Linked DNA regions of Homo sapiens: all the other regions are linked to region 1. Evidence: promoter capture Hi-C in 16 types of primary human blood cells and fetal thymus (Javierre and others, 2016). All regions are on one chromosome and are shown on one strand. Each heading gives the region's core, a stretch centred on a gene start or on the middle of the fragment in contact. The rest is flanking DNA. Distances are from core to core; before and after follow the strand shown.

The links. Contacts are between HindIII fragments. The CHiCAGO score rates a contact against its expected background, and 5 or more counts as called.
Region 2: a contact is called between the fragment with the promoter of FANCG here and a fragment that was not itself captured in region 1, in 3 of 17 cell types (M2 macrophages, neutrophils and naive B cells). The highest score is 6.5, in M2 macrophages.
Region 3: a contact is called between the fragment with the promoter of SPATA31G1 here and a fragment that was not itself captured in region 1, in 2 of 17 cell types (M0 macrophages and M2 macrophages). The highest score is 6.2, in M0 macrophages.

What each region holds. Positions count from the first base shown.
Region 1 is chr9:34,901,593-34,905,951 of GRCh38, reverse strand. It overlaps a transcript of PHF24 not described here. Among named protein-coding and RNA genes, the nearest start is that of SPATA31F3, 8.0 kb to the right of the region's middle. The HindIII fragment of the contact is 3,777 bases long and covers 339-4,115 here.
Region 2 is chr9:35,078,692-35,083,050 of GRCh38, reverse strand. FANCG (FA complementation group G) reads left to right here and starts at 3,109. Exons shown (of 14, transcript NM_004629.2): 1 at 3,109-3,610; 2 at 3,810-3,900; 3 at 4,315-4,359. The coding sequence starts at 3,527. RefSeq lists enhancers at 1,657-2,263, 3,480-4,087 and a silencer at 3,239-3,404. The HindIII fragment of the contact is 2,060 bases long and covers 2,330-4,359 here.
Region 3 is chr9:35,040,836-35,045,194 of GRCh38, reverse strand. It overlaps SPATA31G1 (SPATA31 subfamily G member 1), which reads right to left and starts at 2,955. Exons shown (of 2, transcript NM_203299.4): 1 at 2,710-2,955; 2 at 1-2,334. The coding sequence starts at 2,940. The HindIII fragment of the contact is 2,574 bases long and covers 1,872-4,359 here.

The DNA.
Region 1 (4,359 bases), core at 978-3,477:
CAGGTTCTGAAGACCCATCTCCACAGTTCATGTCCACGTGACACAGAAAAACATTCCCATGAGGAGATATCCACAACCCCAGTTTCCACACGAAGACAAAATAAAATCTAAAACTCAGTTAATTAAGATCAAATATATACAAAATAAAATGCACTCAGAGTAAAATAAATATTTCAGGAATCCTTCTGTTATTTCTGCATGTTATCATTACACAGAGACACCAGCAGTTTATGCATGTTGATTCCTGCATTTTGGATCACTCCCTCTTCCAACTCCACATATTAAAATCCTCTCTCAGCTTCAAGCACCAGCTTGAATGCCATCTTCTACATGAAGCTTTCCCAGATCACTTCAGCCAAAAATAATCTCCCCTTTACAGGAGATTTATATAGCAACTTTATATAATATTTATAAGGAGATTATATACCACATACTCTCAGATACCGTATTATTGTATAGATACCTATTATTTCCCACTATGCTGAAAGCATGTAACTTTTAAGTTATCAGAATTCACTTCTACATACTTTTATATCCCCTACAGTGTTTTATTCAACAAATAGGTTTTAATGAACACCACTTTTAGCTAACAGGGAAAAAACTAAAGCACAGGAGAGGAAGGCGGCTTAGATGAGAAATGGGGGTGCTTGTTCTCCTCTGGTAGGAGGTCAGGTTGTGGTCATGCCAGTAGTCTGGTGTTTAGGATTGCCCTCCCTGCCTCTGCAGCTGGTCAGGAGGGTGGAGACTAACGAGGGGAATCAGAACCAGGAGCCAGCTTTCAGCTTTATAGGCAGGCTCCATTTTGTCAAGGTTCTCTGAACCAAGTGGTTTCTTTGGGATGGATCCACTGTAACTAAACTAAAAAGAGACTGAAGCATAAATCAGAATGCTAATTTACTAATTTATAGTGATAAATGTAACTCCAACGAACCTGGCCTACTCCCACCTGCTGGTCAGGGCATTCTCTCCTTCTAGGTCTATTTACATTGCAAGTTCTAGGCTACTCAGAAGTGTCTGATGAATGTGTAATCCAGTCAGTGCTGTGAGTGCATAAACTAGAAAACCTAGAAGAGATGAATAAATTCCTGGAAAAATACAACCCTCCTAGCTCAAATCAGGAAGAATTAGGTACCCTGAACAGGCCACTAACAAGCAATCCTTTTGACACTATTCCACAAGACAGAGAAAGAAGGAACCCTCCCTAATTCATTCTATGAAGCTGGCATCACTCTAAGACCAAAACCAGGAAAGGACATAACCAAAAAAGAAAACTACAGACTGATATCCTTGATGAGTATAGATGCTAAAATCCTTAACAAAATACTAGCTAACCAAATCCAAGAACATATCAAAAAGATAATCCACCATGCTCAAGTGGGTTGCATACCAGGGATGCAGGGATGGTTTAACATATGCAAGTCAATAAATGTGATATATCACATAAACAGAATTAAAAACAAAAGTCACATGATCATCTCAATAGATGCAGAAAAAGCATTCGACAAAATCCAGCATCCCTTTATGATTAAAACTCTAAGCGAAATTGGCATACAAGGGACATACCTTAATGTAATAAAAGCCATCCACGACAAACCCACAGCCAAAATAATACTGAATGGGGAAAGGTTGAAAGTATTCCCTCTGAGAAGGGGAATAAGACAAGGATGCCCACTCTCACCACTCCTCTTCAACATAGTACTGGAAGTCCTAGCCAGAGCAATCAGACAAGAGAAAGAAATAAAGGGCATCCAAATCAGTAAAGAGGAAGTCAAACTGTCACTGTTTGGTGACAATATGATCGTCTACCTTGAAAACCCTTCACTGTTTGCTGACAATATAATCGTCTACCCTAAAAACCCTAAAGACTCCTCCAGAAAGCTCCTAGAATTGATAAAAGAATTCAGCAAAGTTTCCAGATACAAGATTAATGTACACAAATCAGTAACGCTTCTATACACCAACAGTGACCAAGCGGAGAATCAAATCAAGAACTCAACCTCCCTTACAATAGCTGAAAAAAAATAAAAATAAAATACTTAGGAATATACCTAACCAAGGAGTCAAAAGTCTTCTGCAAGGAAAACTACAGAACACTGCTGAAAGAAATCATAGATGACACAAACAAATGGAAACACATCAATCTCATGGATGGGTAGAATCAATATTGTGAAAATGGCCATACTGCCAAAAGGGTCATGAGTGGAACAATCTCAGGTGCTAGTGTCACTGGGCTGTGACAACCTAATGCCTTTCCTGCAGTTGGGGGACACACCTGATGAGAAGAACTAGGTGTGTACCAGGATGACACTGGAGACCTTTGGATCCAGCCTTGCTCTTTGGTTCCTGTTTTTAAAAAATTTACTTTATTTCATGTCATTTTATTTTTGAAATAGGGTTTAGCTCTGTAGCTTGGGCTGGAATGCAGTGGCACAATCACAGCTCGCTGCAGCTTCAGCCTCTTGGGCTCAAGTGATTCTCCTGCCTCAGCTTCCTGAGTAGCTAGGGCTACAGAAGCATGCCACCATGCCCAGCTAATTTTTTATTTTTTGTAGAGATGGGGTCTTGCTGTGTTGCCCAGGCTGGTTTTGAACTCCTAGCCTCAAGTGTCCTCCTGCCTTGGCCACCCGGGCTCCTATCTTAAAATTTATTTTATTACTGTCCTTCTTTTAAAAAACTACTGGATATGTGAATAGTCTGCAATTTCAAACAGCTTATTTATAATCATTCTGAGTATTTATATCCTCTTAACTTGAATGAAATAGAGGTGGCAAGGACCTTAGTGGAGTTTAGAATCAACCTTTTTATCTATCTCTAAGTTGCTGTGATGGGCTAGTTATTTTACTTCTTGGTGATTCAGTTTCCTCTTGTATAACGTGGGATAACAATACCTGGGTCTGGCTGGTGGTAAGCACTGAATGAGGTGAGGCGTATAACAGGCCTGGCACTGGGTAATGCTGCTCAGTCAGGGTTAATTCCCCTTTCTTCCTTGTGTTCCTGAATTCTTTGACCTTTATTTATAGTTCATTGTCTAGGTTAGCTCATCGCCAGAGATGGCCAAACTCACCTATTATATGAGGACTTTTCATAATATTATCCACAGAGATTTGCTGACACCCTATTAACCACCTCCCCTCCCCAAGAAAGCTCTTTTCTTTTTCTTAATTGAAATCTGTCATAGATAGGAATAAAATTTCAGAACATTTAGAAACATTTTAAATGGTGAAAAGGATACAGCTACTGAAAACATTTTTGAAATCATGACTAAAATTTCATTTCATTTATTTATTTTTATTTTTTTGAGACAGGGTCTTACTCTGTCGCCCAGGCTGGAGTGCAATGGTGTGATCATGGTTCACTGTAGCCTTGACCTCCCAGTTTCAAAAGGTCTTCCCACCTCAGCCTCCTGAGTTGCGTAGCTGGGACTACAGATGCATGCCACCACGTCTGGCTAATTTTATAATTTTTTGTAGAGATGGGGTCCCATTATGTTGCCCAGGCTGGTCTTGAACTCCTGGACTCAAGTCATCCTCCTGCCTCATCCTCCCAAAGTGTTGAGATTACAGGCATGAACCATCATGCCCAGACTAAAATTTCATTTTTATGGGAGTTTCTTTTAGATGCATTATTGAGGCAGATGGAAATGTAATTATTTTGTTTGGTTGAGTAGTAACTATCAGTAATATTTAATAGGATAATACATTTTATACAAGAATAAGAATATAAATTCATTTTTACAATCATAGTAACATATTTTCAAGGTATAAACAAAATTTAATCATTTTGATTATAAGATCTTCATGTGTATATTATTAAATCAAAAGCATTTCTACATGTTTATTTATTTACGCATGACTCTGTCTTCTGAGTTTTTACTTTATTAGTAAGGTATTTGAAAACATTTTTGGAAGATTCTGTTTTTAATTATCTTTTTACTAGGGAAAATTTCAAATAACATACCTCCATGTACCTGTCACCCAACTTCAAATTAATATTTTTTAACAATCTTGTTTCTTCTTTACCCCCACACTAGTTACCTCCTCGTTTTGAAGTAAATTCCAGATATCAGAAATTTATACCATTAAATATTTTAGTATGCATCTCAACATATACAAGCTTTTACAGTGACAGAGCTACCATTACTAAACCTAGAAAGTTCAAAATAGTTTCTTCATATCATCAAATACCCAATCAGTGCTTACATTCCCTTGATTGGCTTATAAATTTATTTTTATTTTCTGGAACTCCTGACATCAGATGATCTACCTGCCTCGGCCTCCCAAAGTGCTGGGATTACAGGCATGAGCCACCACCCCTGGCCAGTCACCACGCCCGACCCCCTATTTTTATTTTCTATAATTT
Region 2 (4,359 bases), core at 1,860-4,359, 180 kb before region 1:
TTTCTTTTTTTTTTTTTGAGATGGAGTCTTGCTCTGTCACCCAGGCTGGAGTGCAGTGGCGGGGTCTTGGCTCACTGCAAGCTCCACTTCCTGGGTTCACGCCATTCTCCTGCCTCAGCCTCTTGAGTAGCTGGGACTACAGGTGCCCGCCACCACGCCTGGCTAATTTTTTGTATTTTTAGTAGAGACGGGGTTTCACTGTGTTAGCCAGGATGGTCTCGATCTACTGACATCGTGATTCACCTGCCTTGGCCTCCCAAAGTGCTGGGATTACAGGAATAAGCCACTGCGCCCGGCCTATGATTAACTTTTTAAGAAACTGCCAAACTTTTCTGAAGTGAGTGTACTATTTTATATTCCCACCAGCAGTGTATGAGGGTTCCTCATACACATCCTCACCAACACTTGGTATAATCTGTTTTTATTGTAGTCATTTTATGTATGTATGTGTATAGTGTTTTTATTTTTATTTATTTATTTTTGAGACAGAGTCTCACTCTGTCACCCAGGCTGGAGTGCAGTGGCATGGTCTCAGCTCACTGCAACCTCCGTTTCCCAGGTTCAAGTGATTGTCATGCCTCAGCCTCCTGAGTAGCTGGGATTACAGGTGTCTGCCACCATGCCCAGCTAATTTTTGTATTTGCAGTAGAGACAGGGTTTTGCCCTGTTGGCTTGGCTGGTCTCAAACTCCTGGCCTCAAGTGATCCACCTGCCTCAGCCTCCCAAAGTGCTGGGATTAAAGGTGTGAGCCACCACGCCCGGCTGTGTGAAGCGTTTTTTTATTTTTTGAGACGAAGTCTCGCTGTGTCACCTAGGCTAGAGTTCAGTGGCAGGATCTCGGCTCACTGCAACCTCCACCTTCCGGGTTCAAGCCATTCTCCCACCTCAGCTTCCCAGGTAGCTGGGATTACAGGCATGCACCACCATGCCTGCCTAATTTTTGTATTTTTAGTAGAGACGAGGTTTCACCAAGTTGGCCATGCTGGTCTTGAACTCCTGACCTCAAGTGATCCATCCACCTCAGCCTCCCAAAGTGCTGGGATTACAGGCATAACATGGCCCGGCCCTGGCCATGTTTTTAACTGTGTTTCTCTAATAGCTAATAATGCCGAGCATCTTTTTATGTGTTTCTTAGCCATTAGTAGATCTTTTTTGGTAAAATGTCTTTTTTTTTTTTTTTGGTCCATCTTAAAATTGTTTTTTGTTTTGTTTTGAGACAGGGTCTCACTTTGTTGCCCACGCTGGAGTGCAGTGGCTCAATCATGGCTCACTGCAGCTTCGACATCCCTGAGCTCAGGTGATCCTCCCACCTAAGTTTCCCGAGTAGATGGGACTACAGGTGTGTGCCACCATGCCCAGCTAATTTTTGTATTTTTTTTGTAGAGGTGGGGTTTTGCTATGTTGCCCAGGCAGGTCTTAAACTTCTGAGGCTCAAATGATCCTCCCACCTCAGCCTCCCAAAGTGCTGGGATAACAGGCATGAACCACCACACCCAGCTAAGATTGTTTTTAAAAATCTTTTTCTTGAGTTTTGGGAGTTTTTATGTGTTAGGGATACCAGTCCCTTATGAGGTATATAATTAGCAAGTAGTTTCTCCCACTCTGTGACTGTGACCTTTCTTTTTTTGAGGCAGGGTCTCACTCTGTTACTCAGGCTGGAGGGCAGTGGTGTGATCATGGCTCACTGCAACCTGGAACTCCTAGGCTCAAGGGCTCCTCCCACCTCAGCCTCCCAAGTAGCTGGGTCTACAGGTGTGTTATTGTGCCAGGGTTAATGTTTTAAATTTTTTGTAGAGATAATGTCTCTACAAAAGACACCATCTTTGTTGCCTAGGCTGGTCTTGAACTCCTGGCTTCAGGGAATCCTCCAGCCTCAGCCTCCCAAAGTGCTGGGATTACAGCATGAGCCACATCCAGCCTATGATTTTTCTTCTTTTCTTTTCTTTTCTTTTCTTTTTTTTTTGAGATGGAGTCTCGCTGTTGCGCAGGCTGGAGTGCAGTGGGGCGATCTCGGCTCACTGCAGGCTCTGGCCCGCGGGGTTCACGCCTTTCTCCTGCCTCAGCCTCCCGAGTAGCTGGGACTACAGGCGCCCGCCACATCGCCCGGCTAATTTTTTGTATTTTTAGTAGAGACGGGGTTTCACCGTGTTAGCCATGATGGTCTCGATCTCCTGACCTCGTGATCCGCCCGCCTCGGTCTCCCAAAGTGCTGGGATCACAGGCGTGAGCCACGGCGCCCGGCCCCAGCGTATGACTTCTTAATGATGTCTTTGTAGTACAAGAGTTTTTAATTTTAATAAAGTTAACTTTTTTTTAAATTGTACAAGCTTTTAGTGCTGTGTCTAACAACTTGTTGCCAAACCCAAGGTCATAAAGCTGTTCTCTTACGTTTTCTTTTTTTTTTTTTTTTGAGACGGAGTCTCACTCTGTCACCCAGGCTGGAGTGCAATGGCACGATGTCGGCTCACTGCAACCTCCGCCACCCGGGTTCAAGCGATTCTTCCGCCTCAGCCTCCGGGGTAGCTGGGATTACAGGCGCACGACACCACGCCCTGCTAATTTTTGTATTTTTGTAGAGAAGGTTTCACCATGTTAGTTAGGCTGCTTTACGTTTTCTTTTAGAAGTTTTATATTTTTGGCTCTTATATTTAGTTTGTGATCCATTGAGTTGATTTTATGTACGTATGTATGGTCGCGTTCTTTTCTTTCCTGTCTTTTTTTTTTTTTTTTTTTGCATATGGATATTCAATTCTCCTAGCTCCATTTAATTTGAAATGATTGGGCAGGTACTTTTGAGCAGTGCAAGTACAGAGCGGCACTGCCAGCAGACTACACGCGGTAGAAAGCCGACCTTGGTGAGCGTGTTGGTGCTCGACAGTGAGCAGAGAAAGGATGGACGATTACGGAGCGCCCTCGTCTCCAGTTACCGCTTTCTGGAAACACCATCCGCCGGGGCGGAGCTGTTCCGCCCCGGTGCGGTACTACGACTCCCAGCATGCACCTCGCAGTCGGCCCTCGGTGGAAGCGGGAACCCAGGAGGACCTGGGGGTGTGGCAGCGAGGAAGGGCCGAGCCACGGACTGTGGGGCCGAAACTCGCTCCCGCCCACCCTTTCTCGAGGCTGTGGCCTCCGCGAGAGCCGAGCGGGCCGCACCGCCGGCCGTGCGACTGCCCCAGTCAGACACGACCCCGGCTTCTAGCCCGCCTAAGCCTGTTTGGGGTTGCTGACTCGTTTCCTCCCCGAGTTTCCCGCGGGAACTAACTCTTCAAGAGGACCAACCGCAGCCCAGAGCTTCGCAGACCCGGCCAACCAGAGGCGAGGTTGAGAGCCCGGCGGGCCGCGGGGAGAGAGCGTCCCATCTGTCCTGGAAAGCCTGGGCGGGTGGATTGGGACCCCGAGAGAAGCAGGGGAGCTCGGCGGGGTGCAGAAGTGCCCAGGCCCCTCCCCGCTGGGGTTGGGAGCTTGGGCAGGCCAGCTTCACCCTTCCTAAGTCCGCTTCTGGTCTCCGGGCCCAGCCTCGGCCACCATGTCCCGCCAGACCACCTCTGTGGGCTCCAGCTGCCTGGACCTGTGGAGGGAAAAGAATGACCGGCTCGTTCGACAGGCCAAGGTAACACGGTTGCTGGCACCCTCGGTTTGCAGCCTCAAGATCCCTGAAAGCGGGTTTGCAGTGGATTTACCCCAACCGATGGGGAGGGACTGAGCTTGACCAAAGAGCCAGAAATGACTGGAGAATGCATCCCTTGCCACTGCTGCAAGGGGAGAAAAAAGGATTGATCCTCAGTGACAACCCCTCCCTCATGTGGCAGGTGGCTCAGAACTCCGGTCTGACTCTGAGGCGACAGCAGTTGGCTCAGGATGCACTGGAAGGGCTCAGAGGGCTCCTCCATAGTCTGCAAGGTAGGCGGGTCCTCCCCAGGATGGTCAGTTCCCCTCTTCCATAGCCAGAGAAACATCCGCTCCTGCGTTTTTGGGATCGATATAATTACTCGGGGCAGGGAGTCCTGTTTAAGGCACAGAGGAGACTGGAGTGGAATCATCTTTGTACAGGCAAATCCCTCTCTTCCTTACACACTCACAGAGTGGCATTTGAAAAATGGTTTCCAAGATGGTCTGATCTGGATAACTTTTTTGCCCTTTCCAGACTCTCTGTCCAAAGGTTGGGTTCTTTTTTTAAATCCTTAGCTAATTGGCTGGAGGGTGGGTTCTTTATTGTAGCTGTTTTGGTTGGAGTGGGGTGATCTCTGAGTTGGGATTTTATTTGGAGGATCTTCCATGGGGGAGCAGTCTGTAAGACCAACATTGTTGCTCCAGGGCTCCCTGCAGCTGTTCCTGTTCTTCCCTTGGAGCTGACTGTCA
Region 3 (4,359 bases), core at 1,706-4,205, 140 kb before region 1:
AGGTACTGTGCGCTGAACTTCTTGAGGATGACAACTTGAAGAGTGGGGGCATGGATTGGGGGGATAAATCTGCTGTGGTGGGCAGGAAGGGAGTCCCCAGAAGTCTGGAATTGTGGAGCTCAGAATAGGGGAGCTGCAAAATGATTGACTTGGGCCAGGGGCTCTGGAGGCAGGGCTCTGCCGCAGTTTCTTCAGCCTGAGTTTCAGCTCTCTACTCCACTGCCAGGCATGGATCCCAGGATGGGTGAGCAACTCTGGGACAGTCCATCTCTGGGAGAGTGGGGCCTCTGCCTTAACCCCTGGGCACGTTACTCCCTTGGGTAGACCAGGATGAGTGCGTTCAATCTTCACAGCTTCAGCTAGGGTGGGAGGCTGGGGTACTGGGTGTAGGGGATCCACTGCCAGAGGGCTGGGGCCTTGGGGAACTTCTCTTTGTTGCACATTTCTCCACACAAGTTCAAGGTCAATGTGTGGCTCTGGTAGAGGAGTAGAGAGTGAGCTGGGGGCTGGGAGCTCAGTGGCCCAGTGGTTCTTTCTTTGCTCCACTGCCTCCCCGTCAGGCTTATAGTTGCTTTGGTCTGCGATAGGCTCACTTACGTGGGACTTTGAAACAGAGTTTGAGGATGGGCTGGAGCCCCTACCTGGGAACACAGGAACACAGTTTTCTTTTTGCTCCATTTCCCCTACAATAGACTGAGAATCAGACAAGACTCCCAGAGGGCTGGCTCCATGCAGGTCTTGGGGTAAGTTACAAGCTGGGTGCTTAGAGGCCCAGGAGTTTTTTGTCTTTTGTATGTCCCCACATCTAGCTTCAGAATCAGACAGGACCCCCATGGATCTAACTCTGAGCAGCTCCGGTGCAAGAGCTGGGGGTGGGCTGAGGGCCAGAGATGGAGACCTAGAAGCCGAGGAATTCCTGGAATGCTCAGTATCCTTCCATGTAGCTTCTGATGTAGCGAGGCATTCCCCAGGATTGATTCTGTGTGGTTCCATAAGGGTGGTTGGAGGTGTGCTATGAACAGGGTCTGGGGAATCAGATGCCCAGAGGTTCTCTTTCTGCCCCATGGTCTCCCACAAAGCTTTGGATTCAGACAGGACTCCCTGGGGGCCCATTACTAGAGACTCCAGGAGAGGGACTGAGGGAAGGCTGGGAGGTGAAACTGGGTCTGCAGGGACCCAAATATTTTCTCTACTTTGCATGCCCTTCCATGGTGTCTCAGATGCTGGTGGGACACATTCAGGGCTGGTTCCAGAGAGCTCTGGGTTGAGGTCCAAGACTGGAGACTCAAAAGCCCAGAGGTTTCCTGAGTTTTCTCTGCATTCCCACTGGGGCTTATATCTGGATGGATCTTCCAGGGAACTCTCTCTCTGGAGTTCTGGCAGGGAGTCTAGGGGAGGGCAAGGGACTGGCATTGAAGACTCAGAGGCCTGAGGTTTCTCTCTGTATCCCACGGTTCCCCAGAAGTCCTTAGATATAGCAAGTCCTCCTTCAGGGCTAACTTTTCTGGGTTCTGACAGAGAAGCTGGGGATTGGCAGGGGGGTGGCATCGGAGGCTCAAAAGCTTGGGGCATCTTTTTGTGTCCTGTGGTTTCCAAATGAGTCTCATATCCAGGGAGAACTTCCAGGGGGCTAGTTCCAGGGGACTGTGTGGGTGCCTCAGCGCCAGATAAAACTCCCTTGTGGTCCACAGGGAAGGGCCTCAGATGGAGGAGTAGTGATGAGACAGAAGGAGAAGATGGAGGTGGAAGCAGCTGAGGATCGGGGGCCATCCCTTCTAGATCTTCCATAGTATGGGCCCCATGGGTAGAAAACTGGGCTGAGGAGTGATACTGGGGAAGCAACAGGTTGGACCTAGGTAGGAAGGCAAGCTTGTTGAAGAAGACAGAAGAACAAACAGACCACTTCAGAGGAGAGGGGCCACCTGAGCTCAGGAAGATGGCCTCCAAGGACTCGCTGTGCAGAGAGGGGAGACCCCAGAAGAGCTGGCTTTTTCTCTGCTGCTGGCGGTTCCCTGATGCTATCTTGTGCCTCACAGGAAAGCTGGTCAGAATCTGGAAGATGGGGAAGGATCTGGAAGGGCTCACGGGCTGCATGACTGTTTGCTCTGGTATCCCTATAGCCTTGAGGAGGCCCTCAGAACCACAGGATGGCTGGGGTGGGGCTGGAGTGGCTTGCTCTCCAGTGGGAGCTTCTTTGGTAGGAGAACATGGCTTCAGTGGATCCAGAGATGCCTCGTCTTCCCCCTCTTCCTCTTCTTCCCCTTCTTCCTCCACTTCTGATTTCTGCTTACACAGGTGATCAAGGAAGGCCACACGGTGCAGAAGTGGTAGTTCCTGGGAAGTAGATAAAGATATTCTCAGGCATGAAGCCTTTTCAGATACACAAGGTTTGCTATGAGGCACTCAGTCTGCTCCATATCCAGAGTGGACAGTTACTCACCTAATCCCACGTGTGTGGCCAGTCACCTACACAGCTCCTCATCTAGTGTTAATGGTCATTACCCAGTCCTCATTTGGAGATCAGTATTCCCTCATTCTACATCTAGAATCCATGGTCACTCACCTGGCTTCAAATCTAGTGTCAGTGGTTACTCACCCAGCCTCACATCTAGGGCTTATAGTCACTCACCTGGGCCCACATTCATACCAATGACCTCACATGTGGTGTCAGCAGTCATTCATCCAGCTGTACAGTCACAGGTCACCCACCTTGCCTTGCACCATATTCCCAGAGCACCAGGGATGAAGCTGTCGCAACCTCCCAAGCTGCCACCATCTCTGAATCTGCCAAACCACGAATAAGAATAGTGTCACCAGATTTCCTGGACTCTGGAAGCAGCTGCTGCCGCAGTGTCTGCAGGCTAGGGCATGGGTCAGTTGGCCCCAGAGAAGCCCCATATCCCCCTTAGCCCCAAGCAGGTCCTCCAGCAGCCATTCCATTTCCCTTAGCCTTCTGGCAGTTTACCCTGAGGTCATCATTGCATCACAGAACAAAGAACTCCCATCCCCCACAGAGGCCTGGGCTTAACAGCCTTCTCCCTGAATTTAGAACCAAAAAAAATTTCCTCTATCAGGCAATTCATGCTTCACACAGTGAAATGTGGGTGATCCCCTTTTGATTGCCCAGTTCAGAATTATGCTTCAGGCATTGTGGTTAAGTACATGGATTCTAGCACCGAACTGCCTTATTCAAATCATAGCTCTGTCATTTTCCTACCTGTGAAAACTCAAACTACTTAATTTTTTCAGTGCCTCATTTTTCTTATCTATAAAATAAAGATATCATTATCTTTATTTTATAGATATTTATTGTTATTATTTTGAGACAGAATCTCACTGTGTCACCCAGGCTGGAGTGCAGTGGTGTGATCACGACTCACTGCAGCCTCAACCTCCTGGGCTGAAGTGCTCCTCCTGCCTCAGCCTCCTGAGTAGCTGGGACCACAGGCATGTGCCACCGTGCCCAGCTAATTTTTATATTTTTTATTTTTGTAGAGACAGGATCTCTCTATATTGCCCAGGCTGGTCTCGACTCCTGAGCTCTAGGGATCCTCCCGCCTTGGCCTCCCAAAGTGGTGGGATTATAGGCGTGAACCATCTTGCCTGGCATATTATTCTTAGAGGCAAGGTCTCATTGTATTGCCCCGGCTGGTCTTGACCTCCTGAGCTCAAGAGAGCCTTCCATCTCAGCCTCTGAGTAGCTGGGATTACAGGCATGGGCCACTCTACCCAGCACAATAATATTATTACTTACTACACAGGGTTGTTTTGAGGATGTAAAAAGTAAAGTAGAGGTTCCTCTTCAAAGACTTTCCTCTCCATCTTATTAGGAATAAATAGTAACATCTCTTAGAAGCAAAATTTATTCAAAGACCTCTGTTAACATTCTTAAATATCTGCTAGCCGTAATAAATCAATTTACTTTATGTTCTTAGCTTCCACAATTTAGCCTAAATATTTGCCCTGGCATGCTTATATTGGTCCAAGCAAGCATTAGGTCATAGCCTGTTCCTCTTCCTTATTTGAAGGTGTTTTTACCTTTCTCAGCATTCCACAAGTTAACTTCCTCCTTCCTTTGTTCTCTGCCTTTGCCTCTTTTTAAAAAGTTCTAAGTTGTTAGCCAATCAGGACAAATACAGAAAGCGAGGTCCTGTTCCAGCCAATGGAAACCGGACACAGCAGTAGGGTGGATGCGTCAGGCTATAAATGACCCTGCCTCCTTTGTTCGGTGTACTCTTCATGGCAAAACTGCTGGTGAGTGTACCGTTTCTGCAGAAAGTAAAAATAGCCTTGCTGAGGAAATTAAATTTATGTTCAAGTGCTATTTCTTCACGGCACTGGGGAACAAGCATTTCTAAC